2 separate regions of the Homo sapiens genome follow, and region 2 is linked to region 1. The links are contacts of gene promoters, found by promoter capture Hi-C in human tissues and cell types (Jung and others, 2019). All regions are on one chromosome and are shown on one strand. Each heading gives the region's core, a stretch centred on a gene start or on the middle of the fragment in contact. The rest is flanking DNA. Distances are from core to core; before and after follow the strand shown.

Evidence for each region. The method cuts DNA at HindIII sites, captures the fragments that hold promoters and counts their contacts. A contact is called where the count stands out against the background at its distance.
Region 2: a contact is called between a fragment that was not itself captured here and the fragment with the promoter of TAL2 in region 1, in 1 of the 25 tissues and cell types used here (thymus).

Annotation. Positions count from the first base shown.
Region 1 is chr9:105,661,019-105,663,827 of GRCh38, forward strand. It overlaps TAL2 (TAL bHLH transcription factor 2), which reads left to right and starts at 1,439. Exons shown (of 1, transcript NM_005421.3): 1 at 1,439-2,106. The coding sequence starts at 1,479. The coding sequence ends at 1,805. RefSeq lists an enhancer at 1,466-1,555. The HindIII fragment of the contact is 2,755 bases long and covers 927-2,809 here.
Region 2 is chr9:105,703,843-105,706,820 of GRCh38, forward strand. It overlaps TMEM38B (transmembrane protein 38B), which reads left to right. Exons shown (of 6, transcript NM_018112.3): 2 at 1,755-1,911. It overlaps LOC107987107 (a long non-coding RNA gene), which reads right to left. Exons shown (of 4, transcript XR_001746868.2): 4 at 2,457-2,628. Among named protein-coding and RNA genes, the nearest start is that of TMEM38B, 11 kb to the left of the region's middle. The HindIII fragment of the contact is 6,802 bases long and covers 1-2,978 here.

The sequences.
Region 1 (2,809 bases), core at 189-2,688:
TAAAGAAATAGGTAAGTAGAGAGTGGGGAGGAAATTCAAGGAACAGAAAATGACAATGTGCGAAAGTGTAGAGTTGGGAATATTCATGAGTCTTCGGAGGAACTAGAAAGGGCCCAGTGCCCAGAGGAGCTGAGCGTGGAGCAGGCAGCAGACCAATAGCAGTAAGCCAAGAACATCAAACTGCCTGGGGCTAGACTTGGGCTTGTTTGCCAGTGCCTCCCAAGTGTTCCTATTAGCACATGTTAATCCAAGCCACTTGAAAAAAGGGACTCTTGCCTCTAAGAGTGAAAAATGCCTGCATAATGCTCGGCAGTATGTGATGATAAACCACTCTCCTAGACTTGGAAAGGTCATCCAATGCAGCCCCAAAGAGGCCCAAGTATCTTCTACAGAATCCACGCCAAATCACCACTCCCACCTGCCCCTTGTCTTTTCATTTTTGCGAGACTAAATACCCCCACTTCTGTTCTTCATACACCAGGGTTTCAAGACCCTTCATCATTCTGTTCCTGCTCCTCTAAATATAGTCCAGTCTGGATATTTTAGTTCTTACAGAGAGGGGCTGAATCCTCCAGGTGAGGTCTGCCAGCTAACAAGAGAGCTGTATTGTCTTCTCTATTCCAAATTTTATTTTATTAACGAAACCTACAATCATTTTCTTTTTTTACTTCATTCTGATAATACATTGTTGATTCATATTCAACTCTCTGTTGGTGGCCGGGCATCGTGACTCACGCTTGCAATCCCAGCACTTTGGGAGGCCGAGGCGGGTGGATCACCTGAGATCAGGAGTTTAAGACCAGGCTGGCCAACATGGTGAAACCCCATCTCTACTAAAAATATAAAAACTAGCCAGGCGTGGTGGCAGGCGCCTATAGTCCCAGCTACTCCGGAGACTGAGGCAGGAGAATCGCTCAAACCCGGGAGCTGGAGGTTGCAGTGAGCTGAGATGGTGCCATGGCACTCCAGTCTGGGTGACAGAGTGAGACTCCATCTCAAAAAAAGAAAAAAACAAAAAACAAAAAACAAACTTTCTATTGGCCAAACATATGTTGCATTTATACATAAACTCAATCAATATTGTACCTGATTCTGAACAATTAGGAAGAGTTGGTTATAAAGGAAGAAACAGGAGTATTGGGACAAAGCAATCTTTCAACTGGAGGCTTCAAAACAGCCAGAGAGAAAAAGCTGAAGGGTGTTGTTCTTACCTTCCCCTGTTGTTTTTAAGTTAAAAAAAGAAATTATGCATAATTCATAGCGTCACTGATGCCTCGAAAGGTGAGAGGCATATGTTTGTGTCCCTGTGGGGTTGTTTTCTTTTTTAAAAACCTGAAAATGAGGAAATGAATCTCGTAAGCTCTGAGTCGAGAAAATCTAACATCTCAGGTTCTTGGCAGGACATGTGATACCAATCAGGCCTCTTATAAGATATTGGCCCTGAGGGCCCTTTCTCTTTCCATCTCAGGAACTCAAACATGACCAGGAAGATCTTCACAAATACCAGGGAGCGGTGGAGGCAGCAGAATGTCAACAGCGCCTTTGCCAAGCTGAGGAAGCTCATCCCCACTCACCCTCCAGACAAAAAGCTGAGCAAAAATGAAACGCTTCGCCTGGCAATGAGGTATATCAACTTCTTGGTCAAGGTCTTGGGGGAGCAAAGCCTGCAACAAACGGGAGTGGCTGCTCAGGGGAACATTCTGGGGCTCTTCCCTCAAGGACCCCACCTGCCAGGCCTGGAGGACAGAACTCTGCTTGAGAACTACCAGGTTCCTTCACCTGGTCCAAGCCACCACATTCCTTAGTGTGGCTCTGGCTGTCATCTCCCAGGGCAGCACTTGCCCAGAAATCACTGCCTGTGGACAGACTTTTGCATGTTCCAGAGTTGACCTGATGATAACTCGTGAAGCATGAATTCTAGCTTCCTGGGAGGTGGCTCAGAGACAGCTGCAGGGAGCTGAAAGAAGCCATGAGGAATGTCACTTGTGGGCCGCCACCCCCCAGGGATGTCAGGTAGAGCGGCCTACCTCTGCCTATTTTAAATCCAGGTTCTGCATAAGACTTTTGGAGAAAAAATTCTAAATAAAAAAAAAAAAAGGCTGAAAATCACTGTTTATACTCAATGTCTTCAGTTATAAGAAAGAAGTTTTCTCATAATGGATCTCAGATGAATAAGTAGAATATGCTTCCTTCAGAACATATTTTAAAGTTTGTTTTGAAAAATGAGATTTGATCAAGGGTGAACAAAATAAATCTTAAGATTGATGGGCCGGGCACGGTGGCTCACGCCTGTAATCCCAGCACTTTGGGAGGCTGAGATGGGCAGATCACCTGAGGTCAGGAGTTTGAGACCAGCCTGGCCAACATGGTGAAACTCCGTCTCTACTACAAATACAAAAATGAGCCAGGTGTGGTAGTGCGCACCTGTAATCCCAGATACTCAGGAGGCTGAGGCACGAGAATCGCTTGAACCCGGGAGGGGGAGGTTGCAGTGACCCAAGATCATGCCACTGCACTCCAGCCTGGGCAACGGAGCAAGACTCGCTCTCAAAAACAACAATAACAAAAAAAGTTTTCTCATAATGGATCTCAGATGAATGAGTAGCAGCATATGCTTCCCTCAGAACAGATTTTAAAGATGGTTTTGAAAAATGAGATGCATTTGATCAAAGGTGAACAAAATAAATCTTAAGATTGATGAATAGAAAGATAACCCCTGCAGAAACCAACCTGGGAGACTTGCGGGAAAAATCTGTGGAGAAAAGACACCCCCCGCCCCCCGCCCACTAAGGTGTGGGGATTACAGGAA
Region 2 (2,978 bases), core at 280-2,779, 43 kb after region 1:
CTTCTTTTGAGAAGTGTCTGTTCATGTCCTTCGCCCACTTTTTGATGGGGTTGTTTGTTTTTTTCTTGTAAATTTGTTTGAGTTCATTGTAGATTCTGATGAAACTGGAAATCATCATTCTCAGTAAACTATCGCAAGAACAAAAAACCAAACACCGCATATTCTCACTCATAGGTGGGAATTGAACAATGAGATCACATGGACACAGAAAGGGGAATATCACACTCTGGGGACTGTTGTGGGGTAGGGGGAGGGGGGAGGGATAGCATCAGGCGATATACCTAATGCTAGATGACGAGTTAGTGGGTTCAGTGCGCCAGCATGGCACATGTATACATATGTAACTAACCTGCACAATGTGCACATGTACCCTAAAACTTAAAGTATAAAAAAAAAATACAAAAATTAGCCTGGTGTGGTGGCGCGTGCCTATAATCCCAGCTACTTGGGAGGCTGAGGCATGAGACGTGCTTGAACTCAGGATGCTGAGGTTGCTGTGAGCCGAGATCACTCCACTGCACTCCAGCCTTGGCAACAGAGCGAGACCCTGTCTCAAAATAAATAAATAAGTAATTAAGTAAATAAATAAATATAGTTTGAGTTAGAGACATTGTTCATATCTAGAATGTTTTATTGGCCTTTTTTTTGGGTGTTTTTTTGACTTTGACATTTAAAAAATATAAGCCAGTTGTTGTTGTTGTTTGTTGTTTGTTTTTGTTTTCTCAGAGTAGCCCTCAGTTTGGGTTTGTCTGATTCGATTAGTTCAGGTTGTATATTTTTGTTAGAAATAACCACAGAAGTGGCCGGGCTCGGTGGCTCACGCCTGTAATTCCAGCACTTTGGGAGGCCGAGGTGGGTGGATCACGAGATCAGGAGTTTGAGACCAGCCTGGCCAACATAGTGAAACCCCGTCTCTACTAAAAATACAAAAATTAGCTGGGCGTGGTGGCAGGTGCCTGTAGTCACAGCTACTTGGGAGGCTGAGGCAGGAGAATTGCTTGAACCCAGGAGGTGGAGGTTGTGGTGAGCCAAGATCGCATCACTGCACTCCAGCCTGGGGAACAGAGCAAGACTCTATCTCAAAGTAAAAAAAAAAAAGAGATACCACAGAAGTGATGATGTGTTCTCAGTGTATCATATCAGGAGTCACTTGATGTTATTTACAGTGATGTCTGAAAGGTTTCCCCCACTCTCAAGTTATTATTTTCCTCTACAATTAATAAGTAATTAGTTAAGACTCGTGTTGAGGTAGTATAAATATCTATTCCTAAGAAACCTTTCACCTTTAGGTTTATTTTGTTACTCTGTTTCTCACCTGTCTTGTTGAAAGCTTAGTTTATTTATTTCAACTTCTTTATTTTCCAATATACTTAAGATTGTAAATTTTTCTTAATAAATCACTTTGACATATTGTCTGGGAGTGCTTACTGTAGGGTTTGGGATGGAAGGAGACAATAAGTGAGAATATCGTTTATAATAATCCATTACTAGGAAACTGGCAATGACAGCCTAAACAGAACAGAGTATTTTAAAGGTGCCAAAGTGCCAAAAATCACCCATTAACAAAATGTTTCCAGTCTTGCTTTAAAGAATAAAAGGTATGATTTTTAATGATTTTGACTGGCACACCTATGAATAATAGTTGTTGAAAATTATGAATTTAAGAAGTTTATTTGTTTAGTGCAACTTGTACTTTGGGGCTTGTTTAATAAATGTATAATGATCACAGACCATATTTTACTTTACCATTTCAGGAGCAGCTGCATTGGCATGGAAGAATCCTATTTCAAGCTGGTTTACTGCTATGCTCCACTGTTTTGGTGGAGGAATTTTATCCTGTCTACTGCTTGCAGAGCCTCCATTGAAGTTTCTTGCAAACCACACTAACATATTACTGGCATCTTCAATCTGGTAAGCTGCCAGTATGGTGACCTATGTGACATTTAAACAATTGTGTTGTAAATTGTTAGTAAAATGAATTTTTTTTTCTTTGAACAATATTTTACGTGCTTGAAAAGTTAATGCATCTGCAAGGAAGGAACCCAAATAATGCTAAGGGGTTTTTTTTTTTTTTTTGAGACGGAGTCTCACTCTGTTGCCCAGGCTGAAGTGCAATGGCATAATCTTGGCTCACTGCAACCTCCACCTCCTGGGTTCAAGTGATTCTTCTGCCTCAACCTCTGGAGTAGCTGGAATTACAGCACCCGCCCTCACGCATGGCTAATTTTTGTATTTTTGTAGAGACGGGGTTTCACCATGTTGGCCAGGCTGGTCTTGAACTCCTGACGTGAGGTGATCTGCCCGCCTCGGCCTCCCAAAGTGCTGGGATTACAGGTGTGAGCCACCGCACCCAGCCATGCCAAAGGCTTTAAGTGTAAAGTATATCTCTTTCTTTTTTATTTTCCCTTATCTTCTCCCAGAAGCAATTATTGTCTGCCATTGTCTTATGTACCTTTTTTGTTGTTGTTGAGACATAGTCTTGCTATGTGCAAGACTGCAAGTGCAGTGGCGCGCTCTCAGCTTGTTGCGGGACGCAGAGGATTAGAGAGACCAGTATGCGTGAATACAGGAGGATATTTATTGTGAGGTACACACCGGCTCAGTGGATTTACCTCCAAAAAGCTGGGCCTTGAATAAAGACAGAGCGAGGTTTTTATAAGTGGGCTCATAAGAGCAAAACAAAGGTAGTTAATCATATAGTGCATAACTTGTGGCCTTGCATAGCTGGTGGCCTTTTAGCTGTGTCAAAAGAAAAACAAGAATTGGCTAAATACAGGCATTTGTAAAACACCGTTATGCTTAAGAGGCAAGGGAAAGGAGTAACAATAAAGGAATTTGTCTTTCTCTCTCTTTTTTTTTTCCTTAACCTTGCTCTGGAGGGGGCGGGGGTGTCTGGAGCCCATTCCTCTGTCCTTGGCTTTTTGGACAGTGTTATAACTGTTCTTGAATTGAGCTGCTAAGCAGAGGAAAACTTTTTT